Regions from separate parts of the Homo sapiens genome. Here regions 1, 3, 4, 5 and 6 are each linked to region 2. Evidence: promoter capture Hi-C in 16 types of primary human blood cells and fetal thymus (Javierre and others, 2016). All regions are on one chromosome and are shown on one strand. Each heading gives the region's core, a stretch centred on a gene start or on the middle of the fragment in contact. The rest is flanking DNA. Distances are from core to core; before and after follow the strand shown. Region 1 overlaps ARL14EPL (ARF like GTPase 14 effector protein like). Region 2 holds the start of CCDC112 (coiled-coil domain containing 112). Region 3 holds the start of CDO1 (cysteine dioxygenase type 1). Region 4 overlaps COMMD10 (COMM domain containing 10). Region 5 overlaps ARL14EPL (ARF like GTPase 14 effector protein like). Region 6 has its middle 5.4 kb from the start of COMMD10.

Region 1 (4,315 bases), core at 1,122-3,621, 760 kb before region 2:
TGACCTAAGCTTTGGCCAACTTAAAAAGAATATACAAACAACCATACAATAGTGAGGAAAAAATAAACTGTTAAAACTACAGATTATAAACACAAAAGAAACATTTTTCAAATTGCATATGCGTCTTAAGTAATACATTGTTTATTAGACATGAATAGTAATGAGAGTCATTTCCCTTCCACAGAGTGACGAAAAATACAGAATTTTAGGAATCTGTGAATGTTAAAAAGAATATTCGAAGTCCAGGATTAAAATATAGGTTCTGAAAAGGAAAAAGTAGTACAAAAACTGTGTATGTTAAATCATATATATGGACTATCGTCCTAAGTAACCTCAAACTATCTTCTGCTGTTACAGACATCACAGAGAATGAAGGAAAAAAGAAAAAATAGATAGAAGAGAGAGGACACATAGGGATTTTTAAAAAGTATTTTATACAATAATATGAACCAACCTAAAGCACACAATGTCTAACACATAGTAAATGTCAATAAATGCTGGACAAACAAGAAATCCGCACATCAAATGGCACCTTTCTGCAGGACCATTTTGCTGTACAACTCTAGGGGGCATAATTGGCATTGTACAGCTGTCCATGTAAAAGTCACCTTCTGGACTTAAGTAATAAATGTCCCTGCATGGCCAAACATTGAAGCCTTGCATGTGTAAATGTTTAAAAATGTCCAAAGCATTCATTACATAACTACCATCTACGACATCCACAGACTATACAAAATGGCATTGTTCACTTTTATAAAAATAGAGGTTAAATGATTTTTCTGTGAGTTAGCATCCCAACGTCTATACCTGCAATGGATCCAAGATGTTGTGTCTTGGGTGGGGGTAGCTGGAAGGGGAGGTACAGAAGGATTATCTAAGACAGTGTACAGATATTCTTTAACTCTTACAAATTACACTCAAAAGTTGTCACAAAAATTGACGTGATATGGCATTCTAGTCCAAAATCCTTGCATAAATGGGCACGGGATAATTTGTCTAAATCCTTCAGTATGTACTGGTTTAATTTAAATAACCTTTTGTAAAATAGGTTTCCTTCCATTTTACACATATTCATGAAGACATGCTATCAGCATTGAAAGATAGCCAAGCAGAAAAAAGTCCTGTCACACTGACAAGACGATTTCCTTGGGTAATGTAATCAGATAGTACAGCTGCATTCCTTGTTAATCTGAATTTAGTTCAAATAGCTAAAGAGCTTTATTCACTTTGTAATAAAAATTAGACACTTGCAAAATAAGTTTTAGACAATTCACATAAATTTATTTTTGTAATAATTATTTATTGCAAGAGAAGTTTTAGAAATACACTGAAATGGCATTAGATCAAGATGAAATAACCTGATTTCTAAAAGTGTACTTCATCAAATGCTTTACTAGGCTTCCATGATAGCAGTATTAGGTGTCTGCTTAGTTAATTATGCAGTTTTTTACTTTATTTTTTGCCTTACTTGGAAAATTTACCAGTATAATTTTTCAACACACTTTTTAAGCCAGATCATTTTAAACCAGATTCCTTTATCTAATCCTTAAGACTGAGTGACAAGAGGAGACAGAAAGGAAGGAGGCTTTAATGCTAATTTGCCTAGGATTATTTTTTAGCATGAAAATTGGACAACTGATGATATAGGGCAGTGTTTCTCAGATGTATCAGATCATAAGACTTAACTGCAATGCTTGTTTAAAATTATGGAATCCCAGGTCTCATTCCTACAGGTTCTGATTCCTGAGGTTGGGGATGGGTCTTAGGAATGTTTATTATATTAAAAGCACTTAATGACCGTAGTGTAGGAAATACGTGGCATCATTGAAAGAGCTCTGACCTAGTCTTAGTGTTCAAAACACCAGGGCTGCCAATTCTTCTGTGTGTCCTTACCTGAGTCACTTAATCTCACTGGGTCTAAATCTCCTCAGTTGCAAAGGTACAAAAACAACAACAACAAAAAAGAGTTTGGCCTTAGTCCATAAGCCCCATGAAGACAGGAGCCCTGCAGATTTTGTTCACTGCCTGGTCCCCTGCACCTAGCCTGCTGCCTGTCACAGAGCAGCCTCTCTGTTAGTATTTGTCGACTAATTCACTATATGGATGAGCTGCAAGGCTCTTTTTGGCTCTAAGATTATATGATTCTAAAATGAAGAAGTAATAAATGCATTTGGTCTGCCAATTACAAAATAATAATTATTCTCAAAAATAAAACAAGATATAAACTGAAAAAGGCCCTGCTTGTTTTTACTGGTTTCCCGGCTGCACATTCCTGGTGAGCATTTCAAAGAATGTGATTTGGGTAATTTGATTTTACGTCTTCCTTACTGGGCTGTGATGGTTAAAGGAAATGCAATTCATTACCGTGTTAACACAATGTTTAGTTCACAGTGTATGCTCAGTAAAAGTAAGTGAAATCTGGAAAACCCAGTAAATTCTATGGAGAATGATGCAGAAGAATGTAAGTTCTCTTGCTCCGTGGACAGGTGTACTGTAGTCACACCATTACTTTTAGGACTTTTCTTATTTTAGTCCTAAAACATACGTCAAGCAACAAATCCAGAACTGTCAGAAACGTTCCCTGGCACAAGTAGATTGTGCAGAAGTGAGTGTTAAACTGATTATGAAGGAAAAATAAATCCTGAAAACTCTATTTATAAAAGGCCGGTCACGGTTGCTCACACCTCTAATCCCAGCACTTTGGGAGGTGAGGCGGGCTGATCACTTGAGGTCAGGAGTTTGAGACCAGCCTGGCCAACATGGTGAAACTCCGTCTCTAATAAAAATACAAAAATTAACCGGGAGTGGTGGTGCAAGCCTGTAATCCCAGCCACTTGAGAGGCTGAGGCACGAGAATGGCTTGAGCCCAGAGGCGGGGGTTGCAGTGAACGGAGATCGCGCTACTGCACTGCAGCCTGGGTGACAGAGGGAAACTCCGTCTAAAAAAAAAAGAAAAAGAAACAACAACAACAAAAAACCCTCTATTTATACTATTTCAAATTTATTTTAAAACTTAAATGCTTTTATTTACTTTTAAATTTTTATTACGTTACTTTATTTAAATACTTCCAGCTTTGTGCAGTGGCAGTATCATAGTCAATGAGGTTTAAATACTTCCTTACATTATGTATCTAAAATAATTTAGAGAAGTGGTTCTCAAAGTGTGGTCCCCACATCAGCAGCATCAACATCACCTGGGAACGTGGAACAGATGGTTGAGCCCTGTCCCAGATTCTGAATGTGGGGCTGCAAAAATCTATGTTTTGACAAGTTCTCTAGGCAATTCTCATGAATGAGAACCATTGACTTAGGGTTAAAAAAAAGACTGTCATAAAAAAATGAATTCAAAGAAAGCTGAATTCAATATTTTATAGCTCTGATGATGTATCAAAGTTGAAAAGACTACATCATTTATCTAGTCAATTGCTTATCAACACACTCAATTAGCAAACATACAGAAAATCATTTTTGTATAACTTGTTTTCTCTCTATGAAAAACAAATCCTGAAATACTGCTTCTGAAATCAAAAATATGTAAACTCCTGGCTTTTAGGATAATAAATTCCTAACTTTTCAATTTTACAAGTACAATACAAATTTTAATGATTAAAAATACTACCAAGTATTACTAAATTTCATTTTAATGTTATTAAAACATGAACAATAAAAAAATGAGGCTATGGGTATACAGTGCAAAGTCACAGTTTTTCTTCAAAATCCAAATGGCAATTCTGATTTACAGCTAGTGATGTATAAGATTCTAAGGACAACTAGATATTATAAATTTAAGATTCTATGTTCTATGTAAGAAAAGCTCTCAACTACAGAGTTTTGAAAATCTTAAAGCTACATTTTCTCAGATATCAGCAAAGAGGGAAGAGAGTTTTAATTTGAAGGCAGAGTAGAGATGAGGGTGCTGATGAGAAATGCTGATCCCTCCATTGTTACATTCTTTGGTTGCAAGTTAAGGGACTTGAAAATTGTTGACACAGTTAAGAAGGTTACAGAATTATTGCCCATTCTACATTGTTCTGGGGCTTGACAGAACATGAGTCTTCAGTATGTTTTTTCGATATTTCCCCCAAGCCCTAAAATTCACCCAAAAGAAAGAGGTCAACTTAAATGTGTAAGAAGAAGAAACAAATCAGTCCATATACAAGAGCACCTAGTCAGGAACATTAAACGGCAGCGTGCTGATGACCTCTCCTGACTCAGTGACGATGGCATCGTAAACCCACCGTCGGTTGCAGCGGCACTCGGGCCCACACTTGTTGGAGTTACACTTCGGGCATGGGTAGAAGCAGCCCAGGCAGTT
Region 2 (4,129 bases), core at 608-3,107:
CTCCTTCTCCTCCTCCTCCTTCTCCTCCTCCTCCTCCTTCTCCTCCTCCTCCTGCTCCTCCTTCTCCTCCTCCTCCTGCTCCTCCTTCTCCTCCTCCTTCTCCCTTCTCCCTTCTCCTTCTTCTCTCTTCTCCTTCTCCTTCTTCTTCTTTGCCTTCTTCTTCTCCTCCATTCTTCTTCCTTCTTCTTCTTCTCCCCTCTTCTTCTTCTCTTTTTTTTTTTTTTTTTTTTTTTTTTTTTTTTTTTTTTTTTTTTTTTGTTGAGACGAAGTCTCACTCTGTCACCAGGCTGGAGTGCAATGACACGATCTTGGCTCACTGCAACCTCCGACTCCCTGGTTCAAGCAATTCTCCTGCCTCAGCCTCCCGAGTAGCTGGGACTACAGACAGGCGCCACCACGCCCAGCTAATTTTTGTATTTTTAGTAGAGATGGGGTTTCACCATGTTGGCCAGGATGGTCTCCATCTCCTGACCTCGTGATCCGCCCACCTCGGCCTCCCAAAGTGCTGGGATTACAGGCGTAAGCCACCACGTCCGGCCTCTTCTGCAAAAACTTCCCTCCACAGACTTCCGGTTTTCCTCCCTTCTCACAGATCTCTCCATATTGGTCCCCTTCTCCTCTTGTCCGTGGTCACCTTCTCGGAGTGGCCTAGGCTTAGTTCTCAGACTTCAATTTATACTCACCCTGGGTGAGCTCATTCAGTCTTATTTCAAATATTTTCTATAGGAAGATCAAATTCGTATCTTTAGCTCTCTCTCTCCTGGGCTCCAGAGGCGTTTATCCCGCTGCCTGTTTAATACCTCTACCAGGATGGTCTCTGGAGTCAGGCTGTCTAGATAGGTATCCTACCCTCTACCTGTGTGGCCATGTGATCCTTAACTTTATCACTGAAATGGAGATGATAATAGTACCTACTTCATGAAGTTATTTGTGAAGATTAAATGCAAAAGTGCATATAAAGCACTTATAACAGCCCTGGCATAAAGGAATTGCTCAATAAATACCTATTTGTTTACTTGTTAAAGGTGAAGGAACCTTACCTATGTGTCTAATTCAACAATGAATTCCCAAGGCCTAGAACAGTGCCTGACATATGCTAGGAGCTCCATATTGACTGACTGAATGAATCGATTTCTATAAAGGGGGAAAAGGTAGTACCTACAGAAATCAGCTCAGTTGCCACAGGTTGTCTTGACTGGAAGCGTCATCTGTGGCTTTTTTCCAACTTCCCAGCACTGTATTTTTGGAATCTGTCTTCTCATTGACCAAGTCCTAGGAATGTAACTGTGGCATTCCTGCCTCTGATATCTGGTTCTGTGGAGCAAGCTGGGTTTTTTTCTTTAAAAATCTAAAATATGATTTATTGTTAGAATCCATTGATAATGTTTTTTCATTTAGACTCAGTCTCAGCAGCGCTAAGTAGAAACCTAGAAAGCGGATGTATATTAGGTAAAAATATGTATATATTGACTATAACACGAATAAAATTTAAGGACGATGTAAGACAATGAATTTTCTTGACAGGTATGGGACTGGGCTGGCACAGTCGGTTAAGTGCCCAAAGGGTATATAAACCCGCGACAGGGCAGAGCGCAGCCCCCGCCCCGCCCCGCCCCGCCCCCACACCCGCCCGCCCCAGAACCCCAGACCCGCCCCTCCCCTGCATCCCGGCTCCGCCCGGCACCTTGCCCCTCCCTCGCCCCGCCCCTCCCCGCCTGAATCCCGGCCCCCGCCTCGCATTTCGGCCCCGCCCTGCACCCCAGTCCCGCCCCTCCCGCACCCCCGCACCCCTGCACCCCCGCATCTCAGCCCCGCCCTGCATCCCGACCCCGCCCTACATCTCGGCCCCGCCCTGCATCCCGGCCAAGCCCGCAGCGCAGGGAGCTGTCTGCAGAGGCCAGGGTGCGCCTGCCACGAATCCCCAGGCACCGGTGGCCGCCGCGGCCCGAGTAGCTCGGCGGGTAAACATGGCCGCACTGACGACGGTTGTGGTAGCGGCTGCGGCCACCGCGGTAGCCGGGGCTGTGGCAGGGGCGGGCGCGGCCACCGGGACCGGCGTGGGAGCGACGCCAGCGCCTCAACAGGTAAATCCGGGAGAACCGAGAGCTGCTCTGGCGGCAGGCGAGGGGCTGCAGGCCCTGGCTGAACAGGTGCCCTCTGCAGCGCCGGCGGGAGGCGCGGCGTTCGCCTCCCCTGCTCGGGGCCTGGCACGCGCTGGGCGTTGCTCTTTGTTGGCTTGTGCGTTTAACAGCTTTTGCAGAGCCGCCTCCATGTGGTTTCGGAGTCGAGGAAGACCTGGGTGGGAACCCGGCTCTGCCGCTTCCTAGCCGCGTGATAAGAACATATGCTGTCGGCGACTCACTTTCTTCTCTAAAAATTGGGAATAGTAACATGCACCTCCCGAGCTTTGGACTAACGTTATGTCTGGGGAGCCCCTGGCACAGTGCTTGATTGGAGGGGGACTCTGTGCTCAGTAATTGGTGGCAGCTCTGTTACTGTACCGGCGCTGGGAACACAAGGAGAAAGACAATATGGGATGGTCGGAGGCAGAGGTGTTTCCAGTGATCGGCTTAGGACCGCTTTCTAGGTGGTGAGGACAAGGTATCTTTGTTCAGATGTTATCAGCTCAGCGAGACTTTCCATGATCTCCCTAAAATGAATCGCCTTACGCGGCACACCCAGTCCCTGTTTCTGGTTTTATTTTTCCCCATAGCACTTAGTACCATATATTATATTACATACTTTATTTCTATTGTTTATGTTTCTCCTCACACCCCTCACCCTCCCTCGCACCCCCATGAGAATGTAAGCTCCATGAGGGCAGAAAGTATTGGAAATTTTATTCTTTATTGTATTCCCAGCACCAAGAACTATGCCTGTTGTGTAGTGCCTGGAACGTAGTATGCACTTACTAAATAATTTGTGGATCAATATAAACCTGAAGGAAGGCTGTCATGAGCTGAGGAGAGGTTCCATCTTTTTCCTCCTTTAAGGAAATACAGTGTCTTTACTCGTAGACCTTCAGGAAATTCCACCTACGGCAAATTTTCTCACACATCCTCTATAATTCTCTTTATTATTCTAACTCTGTCCCAAGTATCTCAGGAAAAAATGTAAAATATATAAATATACATAATACGTAAAGTATTTTTAAGTACTATGCTCAAAAAAATGTGTGACACCATGTTGCTGGCTTTCTCCATCATTTCTCTAAATTCTTGTAGCAATGTTCTGTCTTCTGATCTGCATTTCTTGCGAGTTGCCTAATGTTGTTATTGATGCACACTTTTGTGATGTTTGCCTTCTCAGGGGTTGGATCAGATCACCTGTGGAGCTCTTTCAGATATTTTATCAATCCCCTAGAGGATATCTAGCAATGTTTGGAGACATTTTTGGCTGTCAGAGTGGGGAGCAGGGGGGTGTTGAGGGGCTGCTAGCATCTAATGGATACAGGCCAGAGAACAGCCACCCATAACAAAAATCATCTGGTCCAAAAGTTAGTAGTGCTGAGATTGAGAACCATGGTGTATACTGTCTTACCACTTTAGTAGGGAAAGCAGAGCCTCATTGTTGAGAATCTACCTCAGCATAGTTAGGTAGAATTCTTCACGTGTGTTTGGGCTTTTTTAAAAAAACAAAACAAAACAATGCAGCATTACTGCATGCTATATTGTGATAATGTTTAGGAGTTTACATGTTATCCATTTTTGTACTTCCCCCAGCATACCACACGCACATACCTATACACACAAATTCTACAGCCTAACACCGAACTTGAATATTTGTCATATGATTAAATGAACGAATATTCCTACTGACTTTAACACTGAAACCAACTAGTATTTTCTTGAGAAGAGAGAATTTTCCTGGTGGCAATCTCATGATACTAGAGATGTCTACCAAAATATCTAAAGTTCCTGTCAGCTAGGGCTTCTATAACAAAATGCTACAGACTTGGTGGCTAAAACAACAAAAGTTTATTTTCTCACAGTTCTAGAAGCTAGAAGTTCAAGATCAAGTTGCCCTTAGGGTTGGTTTCTGGTGAGGCCTCTTTTCCTGGCCTGTAGGCAGCCACCTTCTCACTGTGTCCTCACATAGTCTTTTCTCTGTTACAAGAGGAGAGAAAGAG
Region 3 (3,719 bases), core at 800-3,299, 520 kb before region 2:
GAACACAATGCAATATCAGCACACCTCTATTTGGCCAAAATTGGTAAAACTGACAATACCTGGCGAGGATGCGGGGCAACTAGAACTCATACATCACTGTTGAGAATGTGAAATGGCACAGACCCTTTGCAAATTAGTATGTCAATTTCTTGCAAATTTAAACATGCACTGACTAAATGGCCCAGCAATCTCACTCCTAGGTATTTACTCAGGTGAAATGAAAATTTCTATTCACCCGAAAAAACATTTGTTGAATAAATTAATGAATGAATAATAAACGAATGGAGCTATCATAATGTAAAATGACTAGATAATATCTAAAATTGCTGAAACAAAAAAAAATATAAGCCTATTTTTGGAAAAAGGAAGTAACTACCACAAGGAATAGTTAGAAGAGTTAAGAGACTGACTCTTTAAGCACAGGACAGATGGTCAGGAATGGTTAAAAGGGCCTGCTGCTTTTCATTGACCTTCCAGTACTATTGATTTTTTTTAACTACGTGAATATATTACTTTCATAAAAATGTAAAAAGAAAAAGAGGAGTCAGAGAAAGAAAATGAATTGTCAGAAAAATTTAGAAGTTTTATCAACTGAAATGCAGAAAAGATAAATTGTGCTTGCATTTCATTTTTGTTGTTCATTCCAAACATTTATGGATTAGACTAGCTGAAATGAAGTAATTAAGAGACTCAATAGAAAACATTGCCAAGAATAAAAAATAATTTGAGGAAACCATGAAAAGTTTACAGGTTACTCTGTCACAAAATACTTTGTTAATTCACTACCCCGCAGCAACACACATCACCAAGGCTGGCTTCTGGAATGCTTTCTACTTGTAGCCATTTTTGAACAATAGGTGATTCCGCTTTTAACAACACTGTTAGAATATAATGTAGCGAGTTTTACCAGAGATGTTTAAGACTACCTGGCACAAGTAAATTTCATTGTATACATGTATATACACGAGGGAGGGTGATCATAGTCTAGAAAAAAACAGGTCTTCAGAAGTCTAGAACTTTAATAACCTTAAATCCAAATTATTCCCTGCGTCCATCCATAATGAGAAGGAAGAAATCTACACTTGCATTTCTTCCACCTTTCACATCTTTCTCATTTAAATCCTACTGTACTTGATTTGTGTTGTTCCCAACGTACTAGGTGCTATGCATGACGTAGAAACGTGTTTCCTTATATGTATGTACTAGCAGGCTCCTTCAAGCACATGCCTAAGGTTGAAAGATTCAAATATAATTATAGCCTCTTAAATTATTGCGTCAGAGCCCGCCCTATCCCCTCAGAAAAAGCCCCCTTTTACACCATCAAATGAAATATCAGGTTATTTGCACTGGATATTTTTTAAAAGAAAATATTTGATTTTAAAATCAAAGAGTTCTTGGTTTTCCATCATTTCACTAATTGTCTTACTAGAGACCCGAGTCTCCTTTGTCAAAATATATTTCAGTACGCATTTTAAAAAATATGTGTGTGTGTATACTTAAATATATATATATATAAAGTCTTGGACTTATTTTCACCTAGCCTGGGGCATATCGTGGATAGTTTCAATCGACAAAACAGGCACTCTCTGGCCTAGGAGTGGAATCCATCCTCAATTTTCGCAGGCTCCTCACAATTCTCTATTTGGAAGAAGTGTCCCTCTCCTTCCCTTTTCTTTTCCTCCTTTACTCAGCGTCAGTCCCCGCAGCCATCTCCTCCGACCCTTTTTGTCTACGTCCCAGCGTCGCGAACCACAGCGGCGGAGGTGGAGCGGGGAGAGGCGTTAGGCCGGGCGGCTAAAACGCGCCGTTAAAGTGGGGGAGAGATTGCGCGGAGCCCACGCGATCCCTGGGACGCCGGAGACAACGGGGCTCTTGGGAAGGCGCGGAGCCCGGGGAAGCCGGGGATGTGCGCGTGAGCCGTGCCCGCAGGGTCTCCCCGCCTCCGCCACCTTTCTTGGGTGGCTCTCCGCCTCGTCCTCCCTCCGAGGGCCGTTGGTACATTCCTAGTGACTCCAAGCGCTTAAAAGGGGCCCGGGAGGATGAACCCCACAGATCTGAACCTGATTTGTGTGTGCACCGCGTCTCCAGCGATCCCGGATCCACTGCGCTGCCAGGGGCCTGGGGGTGGGTCTCTTGCTGTCTCTGCGACGACATCCTTACGTTTCGGCACTCTAATGCTGGGTTTGTGCGTGTGTGTCTGCTTAGCGGTCTAGCGGGCTGTTAGGCTCCCTCGCCCCCAGCTCCTTGGCTCGCTCAGCTCCTCCACCGCAGCCCAGCAGTGAGACGCGCGCGCAGCCAGCTCCCCACGAGATGGAACAGACCGAAGTGCTGAAGCCACGGACCCTGGCTGATCTGATCCGCATCCTGCACCAGCTCTTTGCCGGCGATGAGGTCAATGTAGAGGAGGTGCAGGCCATCATGGAAGCCTACGAGAGCGACCCCACCGAGTGGGCAATGTACGCCAAGTTCGACCAGTACAGGTGAGCGCGCTGCAGCTTCAATGCCAGGCGGCGCCCACTCGCCCCGTCTGAGGAGGAATGGACGTGGGGGACGCAGCCCAAAGTGACTGGCTCGGGAAGCTCGGGCCGCGCTGCGTCCGCCGCTCGCCCCCTCGCTGGCCAGCCGCGGGGCTGGCACGACTCGCTTGGGGCTCCGCGGCCACAGCGCAGGCGGAAGGTGGATCCTACTGGCCTTGCTGACCTCCGGCCGGGAACGGCGGACAGGCGCCGGGAAGGGAGGCCACCGCGCGTCTGCGAGATTTTCTGTTCTCTTCTCTCCCGCAAACCCCTCTGCTTCTAAACCACCAGTCCTCCTGCCCCTGGCCTCGGGAGCAATGCCCACACTCCCAAGCCATCGTTAACCCCGGGCGCGGAGATGCGGAGAGACCGCACTCAGGTTCGGGCCCTCCTGACACCTTAAGGAACCGTCTGGCCGGACTAGCAGAGGGTGCTCCCAGGGGAGCACTACATCAGCCATCGGGAGAAGTGTGTGATGTTGAAGAAGACAAGTCACCCGCGTCAGTTCTCCATCACTGCGCCTTCGGTCGCCTGCAACCGGGCACCTTATAGCAAGCATTTTTACTCATGTAAAATAGCGTCTTGTGGCCGTCAGCTGCCACTACGGAATTTCTGCTGTTCCCTTTCCCAAACCAATTTAACTAACTTCCCCGACTGTGGGTTTATTCAAATCCACTGCCAAGTTTCGCAGATTAAATATTCGACCGTCGTTTTTTTCAGCCCCCAAATGATCTGATTTATCTTATCCTTGCTTCTGACGATCTGTAATGTAAATTAAAGACCCCTACTTCCCAGATGTACTTGAGTGAGGTGCCCTGGTAAGCTGGCTTTTTTGCAGCCCCGGCTTGGTGATTAAGTCGAATCTCTCTACCAATCCTCCGGGGCCAGAGGTAAAATTTAATCACCCCGAAGTGTGAGAGGTTCTACTTTTTCTGAGCAGTTAGTGCGTCAGTCTTTGTGGTTTTTTGGGTTTAGGGTTAGGAGAAAGGGGTAAGTGAAAGAAAAGAATAAGGAAAGAAGTAAGTTTGTTTTTCTTGGGAGCAGGTTCTTTTAGTCACTCTTCAACATGTGGGATGTTTCGTAAAGTTTTGTTGGCATGGGCGGTTTCAACTGTATTTTAGGATTTGAAATAGAAAAAGTGAAGACCACTAAGGATCCCATTTTTCATATACAAGTGACTTGAGGAAATTCCTTTGGCTCCTA
Region 4 (4,199 bases), core at 1,487-3,986, 800 kb before region 2:
CTGCATTGCCAAAAGCAGAAGAATGAGACTAGACCCCTGTCTCTGATCATATAAAAAAAATCTCAAGATGAATTAAGAGACTTCAATGGAATACTTGAAATTTAAAATACTAGAAGAAACCTAGCGAAAACTCTTTTGGACCTTGTTCTAAGCAAAGAATTCATGACTAAGATCTTAAAAGGACAGAAAACAAAAATAAAAATAGACAAATGGAACTTAGTTAAACTAAGAAGATTTGCCCAGGAAAAGAAATAATCAACATAGTACATAGAAAACCTGCAAAATGGGAGAAAATATTTGCAAACTATGCACCTGACAGAGGACCAATATCCAGAATGTACAAAAAACCCAAACAACTGAACAACAACAACAAAAATAATCCCATTAAAAAGTGGGCACAGGGCAAAGGACATGAATAGACATTTTTCAAAAGAAGACATAAAAATGGCCAACAGATACATTTAAAAATGCTCAACATCACTGATCAGAGAAATGCAAATCAAAGCCACAATGAGCTATCATCTTACCCTAGTCAGAATGGCTATTAAAAAGTGAAGAAAGTCCGGGCGCAGTGGCTCACGCCTGTAAGCCCACACTTTGGGAGGCTGAGGCAAGCGGATCACAAGGTCAGGAGTTCGAGACCAGCCTGACCAACATGGTGAAACCCCATCTCTACTAAAAATACAAAAATTAGCCGGGCGTGGTGGTGTGCGCCTGTAATCCCAGCTACTCAGGAGGCTGAGGTGGGAGAAACTCTTGAACCTGGGAGGCGGAGGTTGCAGTGAGCCGAGGTCACACCATTGCAATCCAGCCTGGGTGACAGAGCAAGACTCCGTCTCAAAATAATAAATAAATAAATAAATAAAAAATAAAAAAGTTAAAAAATAATAGATGTTAACAAGGATGTGGAGAAAAGAGAACTCTTATGGAAAATAGTATAGAAAAGGGAACTCTATGGAAAACAGTATAGAGATTGCTCAAATAACTAAAACTAGAACTAACATTCAATCTAGCAATCCCTCAATGGGGCATCTACCCAGAGGAAAAGAAATCAGTGTACTAAAAAGGTACTTGCACTCCTGTTTATCACAGTATTCATAATAACAACAATATGGGATCAACCTAAGTGTCCATCATTGGATGACTGGATAAAGAAAATATGGTGTGTATATATAGACAATGGAACACTATTGAGCCATAAAAAAGAACAGAATCATATCTTTTGCAGCAACTTGGATGAAACTGGAGGCCATTATCTTAAGTGAAACAAGTCAGACACAGAAAGACAAATACTGCATATTCTTACTCATAAGTGGGAGCTAAATAATGTGTACACATGGATGTAAAAAGTGGAATGACAGACAATGGAGACTCAGAAGGGAGAGGAGGTGCTGCGAGGGTGGATAATGAGAAATTACCTAAAAGTCCTGAATTCACCATTATGAAATCTATGCATGTAACAAAATTTCAGTTGTACACCATGAATTTATACAAAGAAAAATAAATAAATGGCAAAAAACAGACGTATTAAAGTGAGATGAGATGAAATTTTAAAATCCCTTCAATCATATTCTGCAAAAAGCTATTAATGTCAAGTTTTTTTTTCAATTGGCCCTCTCATTTATTAAATCTAAACAATAAGAGATAAAAAGAAGTGTCTTTCAACCAGTCTTTGACAAGGGCACCAAGGATACACCATGGGAAAAAGCCTTTTCAACTAATGGTACTGAGAAAACTGAAAATCTACATGCAAAAAAAAAAAAAAGGAACTGGACCTTTATCTTATACCATGCACAAAAATTAACTAAAAATGAATTAAAGACTTAAATGAAAGATCTGAGACTATAAAATTTCTAGAAAAAAATACAGGAAAAATAGCTCCTTAGCACTGGCCTTTGCAATGATTTTTTGGATAGGACACCAAAAGCGTATCACTTTTTGGATATGAAATACATAACAAAAGCAAAAACAAACAAGTGTGATTATATCAAACTAAAAAGCTTCTACACAACAAAGGAAACTTAACAAAATGAAAAGGCAACCTATAGAATGTGAGAAAACAGAGGTTCGGCATCCCTAATCCAAAAATCCAAAATCTAAAATACTCCAAAATCTGAAACTCTTTGAACTCCAACATGATACCATAAACAGAAAATTTCCCACCTGATCTCATATGACAGGTCACAGTCAAAACTTTGTTTCATACACAAAATTATTTAAAATATTGTGTAAGATTACCTTCAGGCTATGTATATAAGGTGTATTTGAAACATAAATGAATTCAGTGTTTAGACTTGCTTACCATCCCCAAGACATCTCATTATGTATATGCAAATATTCCAAAATTCAAAAAATCCAAAATCCAAAACACTTCTGGTCCCAAGCATTTCAGATACGTGATACCCAACCTGTATTTGTAAACCATGTATAAGAGGTTAACATACAAAATACATAAGGAACTCACAAACTCAATAGCAGGAAAACTAATAACCCATTTAAAAACTGGACAAAGGAACTGAACAGACATTCTCCCCACCAAAAAAAGGCATAAAAATGATCAACAGGTATATAAAAGAGTGGTCAATATCATTAATCATCAAAGAAATGCAAATCAAAAGCATAATACAACATGACGTTACATCGTTAAAATACCTATTATCAAAAAGACAAGAGACAGCAAGTGTTAGGAAGACAGCAGAGAAAAAGAAACCATTGTACAGTGTTGGTGGGAATGTAAATTGGTACAGCCTTTATGAAAAACAGTATGGAGGTTCCTTAAAACATTAAAAATAAAACTATCATACAATCCAACAATCCCACTCCTGGTTTATACGCAAAGGAAATGAAATCAGTTGAAGAGATATCTGCACCCTCATGTTCACTGCAGTATTATTCACAATGGCCAAGATAAGGAAACAACCTAAGTGTCTGTCAACAAATGAACAGATAATGAATGGAATATTATTCAACCTTTAAAAAGAAAACACTGCCATTTGTGACAAAATGGATGAACCTGGAGGGTGTTATGCTAAGTGAAATAAGCCAGGCACAGAAAGACAAAACACTGTATGAGCTAATTTATACGCATACTCTAAAAGTTTAACTCACTGAAGCAGAGAGTAGAATGGTAGTTGCCTGGGGATGGGGTATGAGGGAAATGAGGAGATGCTGGTCAGAGGGTACAACTTTTAGCTATAAAACAAATTAAGTTCTGGGAATCTAATGTATGGCATGGTGACTATAGTTAATAATACCACGTTGTTTACTTTAAGTTTTCAAAGACAGTAGATCTTAAATGTCCTCACGCACACACTCACCCACACATAAAAGGTGGTAACTGTGTGGTGACAGATATGTTGATTAATTTGATTATGGTAATCATTACACAATGTATACAGCTATCAAATCATCACATTGCACACCCTGAATACGCATAATTTTTGTTTATCAATTATACCTCGATAAAGCTTAAAAAAGAAGTTTTTAAAATGGAATAAAAATAAACACCTTTTGATTTTTTAACATTATTTCATTGATCTTACCCTCTTTGAATTCAGAATCACAGTCTTTCCTCAGTATCTAGCGAGGGCTGGTTCCAGGACCCCCTACAGACACCCAAAACTGCAGATACTCAAGTCCCTCATATAAAATGACACAGTATTTAAATATAATCTACACATATCCTCCTTTATACTTTAAATCATCTCTAGATTATTTATAATAACTAATACAATGACAACACATCATTTCTGTGGATTTAACATAGTACTCAGCACATGGCAAATTCAAGTTTCACTTTTTGGAATTTTTTGTTTCCCAAATATTCTTGATCTGCTGCGAGTTTAATCCATGAATACGAAATCCAGGGATACAGAGGGCTGACTGTACTACCAACATGTGTTCTGCTGCAAGCACCCCACAGTTTATGTGGGTAGGACCCTAAGTTACCATAAAACAGTTAAAGTCATTGCATGTACACCTTTTTTCATCATATAAGTCAGTGTAATATATTTTTGTTACAATTTAAATGGCATGATCTGTTTTCACATCTGGCTATTTTGGCCACAGTATCCTAAACAGTTCTCAGAATGAAAAAGAAAGATAGCATTACAGCTGCCAGAGGTAGCATGATATAAAAGGAATAAGACTTAGAGACAGACAGATCCAATCCTCATTTCAGTTTCATCATGGACCACTTG
Region 5 (4,115 bases), core at 10-2,509, 740 kb before region 2:
CAGTCCTAGGACACATTTTGTTCTTGCTGTATCTAACTGTGCCTTTATTCTCTTTTCCAGAAATGCCTTCCCGTCACTCTTTAATCACTCCTTTAATGCCTTCCCTTCACTCCTGTTATATACCAAACGGCTATAATTTCTATTAATTTCGATTATAGCCAAATGGCTATAATTTCTATTATTGTATATAAATTCTATAATTTCTATTATAGCCATTTGGTATATAACAGGAGTGAAGGGAAGGCATTAAAGAAGTGATTAAACCAAATGCCTATAATAGAAATTATATATAGCCATTTGGTATATGTCAAAAGCTTTAAAATAGACATTATCTTTGACCCAGCAATTCCTCTTTGGGAAATTTATTCTAAGGAAAGACAAAGATCTTCGCAAAAATTTAGCTACAAGAGTAAATCTTGTATTAATTCCTAGGTTTCGAGTTGCTAAGTTGGGAGAGTAAAAAGTTTGGCAGCAACTTAATAGTCAAAACAAAATAATGTGATATGAAGTAGTCATTAAAATAATGTTGTGGAAACATATTTGTTAAGAAGGAAGATCAATACACATTATTATTACAAAAGCAGATCTGAGAATGTAGAGAGTTTTAAAATTTGTCAGACAGTTTAGTAAATCATATTTTTCTAGGAATGTAATCATTTCTTCTAAGTTTTCAACCTTATTGGCATAAATTTGTTCATTATATCATCATGTTATCATTGATGTCTGCAGCATCTGTAATTATCTAATGTATTCATAATACTGTTTATTTGTACCTTTTCTCTCAGAGATTTCTCATCTTCTCAAAGAACTAAGTTTTAGCTTTCTTGTTTTTTTTTCTATGTCATATTCTTCTAAGAACTTTGGGTATATTTTCATGTTCTGTTGTTCTAAGAGGTATGTTTAGCTCATTAGTTTTCATTCTTTTTTTCCCCTTAATGTGAGCATTTCGGGATATAAATCTCATTAGGTTCTTCCCTGCCTGCCCAGCTTTGTATCATCTCTCCTTTTATCATATCTCTATCTTTGATTTGATCACTTGTTTCAAAGAAGAAGTGTTTTCTTAATGTTTTTGTTTCATGGAGAAGTTTTTTTGGTCTTTTATTCTGCTTTGTAGTATATTTGTTCTTCTATGTGTCCCTTACCAGCTATTTGATTTTCCTGATACCTTTGTAGAGATCCCATTCTGGTTCTTTCTGTTTAATCTGTGATCTTTGCTTGAAGGCCATCCTTTCCAAGCACCTATTTGTTGAAGGATGATAGGAGGAGGGCCTGGGGTCAGGAGTGGATGAATTTAAGAGAGCAAGTGGTTAGGTGTGTTGACTTGGGAGCCTTCCCACCAAACCCTGTTCGGGACCTGACCTTCTGCCCCAGGCTTACACTCCCTCCTGGGGTACAACTGAGTCTAAAATGTTTCCTGTCCTCTTGTGGATCAAGACCAGTAACTGCAGAGCTGACTGCCACCCACCTTCTTCCCCCACCCTGCTACCAGACAGCAAGGGCGGTTTGTCTGTGCATTTCCTCATTCTGCTTCATTTCCTCCGCCACCCCTGGGCCCCAGGGACTCCCTGAAAGGCTGTCTGGGGCTTGTAATTACAAAGTGTTACAGGTTTGGCCTCTCATGGTGAGCCACTTAATTTTGGAAGGTTCTGCCTCCCATTAAAGATCCACAGAAACATGTATTTGCTCTCAGATTTCTTTTACAACTGGGTCCAAATTTTGTTTTTTAGAAGTAGTTAGTCATAGAACGTGCTTTTCAGAATGTGCTCTATTTCCTCAGTGCATTGAATTTTCATCTTTTTCACACCCGCCCTCCCCACCCCATGTTTCCCAGGCCAACTTCTAACCTAACCTGGTTTCCCTGCCTTGAGTCTTTTTAATCTCCACACTTCGCTACTGAAGTTATTCTCCTTAAAATTCTTGTCTGCATTGTGTCACTTTCCTCCTCCAAAACCTTTGTGGTCCTTTGTGGTCCTCAGCATGATATTTTAGGCCTTGCATGACATGACCTAATTCTACCTTCCCAGCCTCGTTGTCACCGCATCCTTCCATTAGCCTGACACTAAATTCTAGCTAGAGTGCAAGAATGTTCCCACTTCCAGGACCCACTTACGCTTTCCCCAGTGTATGTCTAAAATCACCATTGTGTAATCATCCCCATTGCCCAGTTAGAATAAGCACCTCTGTTTCTATGTTTGCAAGCTTGTTCATAGTTATTTACACACTTGTCTCCCGTATCAGCCCTCTCCCACTTCAAGGCAGGATCTATATGACTCTTCATTTCTATGGCATCATCTGCCACAGCAACTAGGACATTGGTACTCATGCATACCCACTAATAGAAAGGATCAATGGCACATTTTTCACTGTGAATAGTAACTTAGTGATCTGTTTCCCAGGAGTCTGAGCAATATAAGGCACTTTTTTTTTCAGGTTCTAACCCACTCCGCCATCCCTACCTCTCCTCCTACCTTGCCCTGTTAAATTGGAGCATAATATTCCTGCTGTGCATGATAGGCAATGCAAACCTTAAGGTTCACAAACACAGCAGTGACTGAGAGCATTTTCTCTCCATGAACCTTACATTTGCAATGCATCCCCTCTTCCTGCTATTGTATAACCTACATCAATGCAGTGTTTATCTCAAATTGGTGTTAAAATAAAAACCACCAACTAAAACCAAACAAAGTACATTCTTGTGTGCAGGTAAGAAAACAGTTAGATAGTAATCATAGGTATCTCTGGATTTTTTATACTTTATCATTTCCTATATTTACCCATTTCCTGTAATAAGCATGTATTTCACAATTTTTAAAGTTATTAATATTTTAAAAATACTTCTAAGAATAATGTAGAACTCTCTTGTATGTGTGAAATAACTATGTCCAGCAGATGGCACAAAACCCCTAATCCAGAATTAAAACAGTTAAAAACAAACAAACAAACAAAAAAACTCTTGTTACTTGAAGAATGCCATGTGAAGGGCATGTATCTTAGTGACCAGGAATGAGCCAAAATGGACACTGCTTCCAGAATCTTCGTCTCCACTAGGTATGATTTGTTTATCTCTGTTATAGTCAAAGGTGAGTCATTTCAGAGGTAAGGAAGGGGCCTCTGTGATATGCAGGATGTGTGGGACCTGCAGAGGCTTCAGGGCAAGATGGACTATGCAGAACATTCTCGAAAAGTGGACAAGCTGTGTGTCAATGCGGTGTCACATCTGGAGAGGGCTTTGGAGACCATATAGTCCATGTGTTTCAAACATTGTTATTACCATTTTTTTCTAAATAAACTTCAATGTATGAAACCAAAAAAGTGAATCTCTCCTATTTAAAGCAGGGGATGGGATGGGAGGCAAGAGCCATGCTGGGCCTTCTCTTTGTCCCAGAGTAGCTCCACCCCTTGTACCTGACATAGTCAAGAACTGGCTATACTTAATCAACAATTATGGAAACCATAAAATACTTCCAAGAGGTCCCTAGAGAAAACCCCTAATGCAGTGGTTTCATTTTACTGCTGAGAAAAGGGCTGCTCAGAGGAGGAGAGTTGCAAATTAAAAATGGAAAAACATATAAAAAGCAAAAAAAAAAATCTTTAATTGCCTTTAAAGGAAAACATCAAAAAGAATATTCAAAATGCATCAATAAATTTAGTACTGATGTTTTCACAAATTTGACATCTGAAACTGGAATTTATGATATATTAAATTTCTGGTATTTTAAACATTGGATTCACTTAAATCTGTTTTATAGTTACAATGGTTTATGGAAACTACAGGAAACAGCATTTCAGCTAATGTGAGGTTTCAGGAGACATGTAAGCATATTTCTAGGTTATATTTTTGCAAATGAAGTTTATTTATATCAATAAAATATCCTTAGGTTGTAATTCCTGCACATTCTATAATTTTTCAATGCAAGTAGAAACCCAAACAGTGACTTGACCGCATGAAGCTAGTCATTTTAGAGCTTCTATAAGCCCCTAAAAACATGTCTAAATAATGTTTGCAAAGTAGATGCAACAATCTATTTAAATGCATTTACCTAAAGTTTCTTGTCAGAACGAGTCCAAATTTAACTATTCTTATAATTATCTTGGAAATTTTCCTTGTTTGGACA
Region 6 (4,297 bases), core at 1,766-4,265, 780 kb before region 2:
CTCCCCATCACTTTCAGGTACACCAATCAAGCATACGTTTGGTCTTTTCACATAGTCCTACATTTCTTGGAGGCTTTTTTCGTTCCTTTTCATTCTTTTTTCTCTAATCTTGTCTTCATGCTTTATTTCATTAAGTTGATCTCCAATCTCTGATATCCTTTCTCCTGCTTGATTGATTCAGCTATTGATACTTGTGTATGCTTCACAAAGTTCTCATGCTGTGTTTTTCAGCTCCATCAGGTCATTTATGTTCTTCTATAAACTGGTTATTCTAGTTGGCAGTTCCTGTAACCTTTTATCAAGGTTCTTAGCTTCCTTGCATTGGGTAGAACATGCTCCTTTAGCTCAGAGGAGTTTGTTATTACCCACCTTCTGAAGCCTACTTCTGTCAATTCATCAAACTCATTCTCCATCCAGTTTTGTTCCCTTGCTGGTGAGGAGTTGTGATCCTTCGGATGAGAAGACGCATTCTGGTTTTTGGAACTTTCAGCCTTTTTGCGCTGGTTTTTTCTTATCTTCGTGGATTTATCTACCTTTGGTCTTTGATGTTGGTGACCTTCTGATGGGATTTTTATGTGGGTGTCCTTTTTGTTGATGTTGATGCTATTGTTTTTTGTTTGTTAGTTTTCCTTCTAACAGTCAGGCCCCTCTTCTGCAGGTCTGCTGGAGTTTTCTGTAGGTCCACTCCAGATGCTGTTTGCCTGGGTATCACCAGCAGAGGCTGCATAACAGCAAAGATTGCTGCCTGCCCCTTCCTCTGGAAGCTTTGTCCCAGAGGGTACCCACCAGATGCCAGCTGGAGCTCTCCTGTATGAGGTGTCTGTCCACCGCTGCTGGGAGGTGTCTCCCAGTCAGGAGGCATGGGGGTCAGGGACCCACTTGAGGAGGCAGTCTGTCCCTTAGCAGAGCTCAAGTGCTGTGCTGGGAGATCCGCTTCTCTCTTCAGAGCCAGCAGGCAGGAATGTTTAAGTCAGCTGAAACTGCACCCACAGCCACCCCTCCCCCAGGTGCTCTGTCCCAGGTAGATGGGGGTTTTATCTATAAGCCCCTGACTGGGGCTGCTGCCTTTCTTTTGGAGATGCCCTGCCCAGGAAGGAGGAATCTAGAGAGGCTGTCTGGCTACAGTGGCTTTGCCGAGCTGCAGTGGGTTTGCACCCAGTTGGAACTTCCCAGCGGCTTTGTTTACAATGAGGGGAAAACCGCCTGCTCAAGCCTCAGTAATGGCAGACGCCCCTCCGCCCACCAAGCTCAAGCGTCCCAGGTTGACTTCAGACTGCTATGCTGGTAGTGAGAATTTCAAGCCAGTGCATCTTAGCTTGCTGGGCTCCATGGGGGTGGGATCCACTGAGCTAGACCACTTGGCTCCATGGCTTCAGCCCCCTTTCCACGGGAGTAAACAGTTCTGTCTCGCTGGCATTCCAGGCACCACTGGAGTCAAACAAAACTCCTGCAGCTAGCACGGTCCAAACGGCCTCCCAGTTTTGTGCTTGAAACCCAGGGCCCTGGTGGTGTAGGCACCTGAGGGAATCTCCTAGTCTGCGGGTTGTGAAGACCCTGGGAAAAGCGTAGTATCTGGGCCGGATGGCACCTTCCCTCAAGGCTTCACTTGGCTAGGGAAGGGAGTTCCCTGACCCCTTGCACTTCCCGGGTGAGACAATGTCCCACCCTGCTTCTGCTCACCTTCTGTGGGCTGCACCCACTGTCTATCCAGTCCCAATGAGATGAACCGGGTACCTCAGTTGGAAGTGCAGAAACCACCCGCTTTCTGCGTTGGTCTGGCTGGGAGCTGCATGCTGGAGCTGTTCTTATTCGGCCATCTTGCCAGCCAAGTAAAATATCCATTGCAAACTTTTATGAAGTCCACTTTTTATTACATTCTGTATTAGCCTGACTTTTCTAGAAAACAAGCCTAGTTATTATACATCCTTCATCAGGAACTATAATTGCAAGGGAGTAGGAATGCAGGCAAAAGGGAAACTAAGGAAAGGTAAGGAGAAAGCAAATACAGGGTGGCATGTTATCGAACTGGTTACAGCTTCAAAACCTAGCTTATTTCTCAGTACTCTGGGATATTTCCAGAGAGGCTATTCAGAATCACTGTGTCTTGGAACAACATGGCGTGGGAGTGGAAGAAAGAAATTGTCTGTGAACTCTTTCCAATTTTTTCTTTCTTCATCAAAATTTGTCCTATAACTCATGCTCCTGCATTTCTAGGATATGTCACCTGGTGCCTCTAGGCAGCCCCACTGGAAAATTCAGAGCTTCCCTGGTTCCAATAGAATAGGAACTGAGTCCTGAAGCTATAGCAGAAGAGGAACCCATGGTTCAGTCCCTGCCCATAGCCCCTTCCTTATCCCCCTCCCTCTGCCCTGCCAAGGGTGGCAGTGAGTGACAGGAGCTTTAAACCATGGCAACTGTCAGAGTTTCCAGGGGCCATTTTGTCAGGAAAGTAGAGCAACATGCTGAAGCCTTGGAAACAAGTGGGGCTGAACTTACCTGGGGAGGGGCATAACTTGGAGACAGTTCTAGCCTTTAGTGGAGTCTCAAAACAAGAGGTGCTTAGGCCCTAACTGCTTCAGTCTTTACTGTGCAGCTTTTTCAATTCACATTCACCTAGTTTGCCCAGAGTACATCATGGCACAACTTGGAGTAAGTTCTGGTGTCAGCCCTCCCTGTATCCTGGAAGCTAAAACTTCCCTCTGAGTGTGAGCTTTGTCCTGTTTGGAAGGGCTCCTTAGTGGCCTCTACCTACAGCGCCACTGTACACTCGCCCTCCCCCCATCAGGCGTGATTTATATTTTTGACACCCAGTGATGTAAAGCCAAGATCTGGGGTGTTTTTCTCCCAGAAGTCTTCCCCCAACCCTAAAGGAACTCTGAAGACACCAGGGATCCTCACCCAAATCTATCCTTCGACATTCCAGTCCCAAATGCAAATGATTATCTTTGGAGGAAGAGTAACACCTACTCACCCACCAGAATAGTGTCCCCAGAAACCTAGTCCAGCTGAAATGATCTTTTAAGTAATTTTTTGATATATATTCTCAAATAGGGGGATGCAGGCATTTTATTATGTACCTCAGATTGTTCTGGCAAAGGGTTGCCCAACTATGTGACCCAGTTCCTTAACATTTTGAAAGTCTGAAGTCCTACAACTTATCCTGAGTTCATCAAATGCATCTAGCAAAGAGACGTATAAAGGCAGGAGACTCAAACTATCTGCTACCCATGTCTGACTGCCAGACTGACTATAAAACACAAACTTCATATTGAACAGCTTTGTCACGTTCACCTGCAGACGCTGTTGCCCCAGTTTTCCTCTTTCCCACCCCGCACTGCACACGCTCTTCTCCCTCTCCTTACCATCACACACATGCAGTTTCTAGCCCTGTTTTTAGCTCTGCAGTCAGCACTTGCCTCATAGGTGTGAGAGAATCAATTGAAGTGGAACTGAAGAACAGCCTTCTAGATAGTAAACATGTAATTGTTCATTTCACATTGCCTCCCCAGAGTCCTAGGGGGATAAAGTTTTAAAATTACATATTTTTATTTATGAGTTACTTATGTGAATATTCCTGTTTAATGTGATACACATAGGGAATAAAGAATGCTTGAACACAATCTATTCTCTGAATATTTGCACAACAGGCTGTACTGTAGAAAGAAGCAAGAAATGGCCGGGCGCAGTGGCTCACGCCTGTAATCTCAGCACTTTGGGAGACCGAGGAGGGCAGATCACGAGGTCAAGAGATTGAGACCATCCTGGCCAACATGGTGAAACCCTGTCTCTACTAAAAATACAAAAATTAGCTGGGTATGGTGGTGCGCACCTGTAGTCCCAGCTACTCAGGAGGCTGAGACAGGAGAATCACTTGAATCCGGGAGGTGGAGGTTGCAGTGAGCCGAGATCGTGCCACTGCACTCCAGCCTGGTGCCAGAGTGAGACTGTGTCTCAAAAAAAAAAAAAAAAACAGAAGCAAGAAACAGAGAATAGTATCCAGGGTGTAGGCCACATTTTCCCATAAAAAACAATATTTATGTTCACCCACCCTTAAACAAATGGAGGGTGGGGAAGAGGATGAGAGGGAAATATTTATTAAAATGTAGCAAAAATACACTTTATAATATATGAACAGATCCCCTCCTAATGTATTCTCAAACTTAAAAGTTGAAGACCATCTCAAATTATCACTCGTCCATTTTCATTTGCACCTAGTTTTTCCCGTCCTGCCTCCCAGAGGTCTGTGCCATTAACAGGACCGATATTTACACATAGGATGTGTGAAAGACAGAGTGCT

What was found. Contacts are between HindIII fragments. The CHiCAGO score rates a contact against its expected background, and 5 or more counts as called.
Region 1: a fragment that was not itself captured here is called in contact with the fragment with the promoter of CCDC112 in region 2 in 5 of 17 cell types (naive B cells, M2 macrophages, total B cells and 2 more); the score reaches 8.7 in naive B cells.
Region 3: the fragment with the promoter of CDO1 here is called in contact with the fragment with the promoter of CCDC112 in region 2 in 4 of 17 cell types (total B cells, naive CD4 T cells, total CD8 T cells and 1 more); the score reaches 6.0 in total B cells.
Region 4: a contact is called between a fragment that was not itself captured here and the fragment with the promoter of CCDC112 in region 2, in 1 of 17 cell types (fetal thymus). The highest score is 5.6, in fetal thymus.
Region 5: a fragment that was not itself captured here is called in contact with the fragment with the promoter of CCDC112 in region 2 in 1 of 17 cell types (naive B cells); the score reaches 5.8 in naive B cells.
Region 6: a contact is called between a fragment that was not itself captured here and the fragment with the promoter of CCDC112 in region 2, in 5 of 17 cell types (total B cells, total CD4 T cells, naive B cells and 2 more). The highest score is 9.5, in total B cells.

The regions. Positions count from the first base shown.
Region 1 is chr5:116,058,798-116,063,112 of GRCh38, reverse strand. It overlaps ARL14EPL (ARF like GTPase 14 effector protein like), which reads right to left. Exons shown (of 4, transcript NM_001195581.2): 4 at 3,624-4,315. The coding sequence ends at 4,166. Among named protein-coding and RNA genes, the nearest start is that of COMMD10, 24 kb to the left of the region's middle. The HindIII fragment of the contact is 4,719 bases long and covers 12-4,315 here.
Region 2 is chr5:115,294,382-115,298,510 of GRCh38, reverse strand. It overlaps CCDC112 (coiled-coil domain containing 112), which reads left to right and starts at 1,857. Exons shown (of 10, transcript NM_001040440.3): 1 at 1,857-2,084. The coding sequence starts at 1,968. It overlaps LOC105379129 (a long non-coding RNA gene), which reads right to left and starts at 1,583. Exons shown (of 5, transcript XR_948684.3): 1 at 1,163-1,583. RefSeq lists a silencer at 1,759-2,208. The HindIII fragment of the contact is 8,729 bases long and covers 1-4,129 here.
Region 3 is chr5:115,814,989-115,818,707 of GRCh38, reverse strand. CDO1 (cysteine dioxygenase type 1) reads left to right here and starts at 2,049. Exons shown (of 5, transcript NM_001801.3): 1 at 2,049-2,480. The coding sequence starts at 2,311. LOC124901049 (a long non-coding RNA gene) reads right to left here and starts at 1,620. Exons shown (of 2, transcript XR_007058908.1): 1 at 1,537-1,620. The HindIII fragment of the contact is 6,274 bases long and covers 1-3,719 here.
Region 4 is chr5:116,098,085-116,102,283 of GRCh38, reverse strand. The region is part of intron 4 of COMMD10 (COMM domain containing 10); the gene reads right to left. Among named protein-coding and RNA genes, the nearest start is that of COMMD10, 15 kb to the right of the region's middle. The HindIII fragment of the contact is 1,467 bases long and covers 2,003-3,469 here.
Region 5 is chr5:116,036,406-116,040,520 of GRCh38, reverse strand. The region is part of intron 1 of ARL14EPL (ARF like GTPase 14 effector protein like); the gene reads right to left. Among named protein-coding and RNA genes, the nearest start is that of ARL14EPL, 6.0 kb to the right of the region's middle. The HindIII fragment of the contact is 1,885 bases long and covers 317-2,201 here.
Region 6 is chr5:116,077,433-116,081,729 of GRCh38, reverse strand. No RefSeq gene overlaps it. Among named protein-coding and RNA genes, the nearest start is that of COMMD10, 5.4 kb to the left of the region's middle. The HindIII fragment of the contact is 4,497 bases long and covers 767-4,297 here.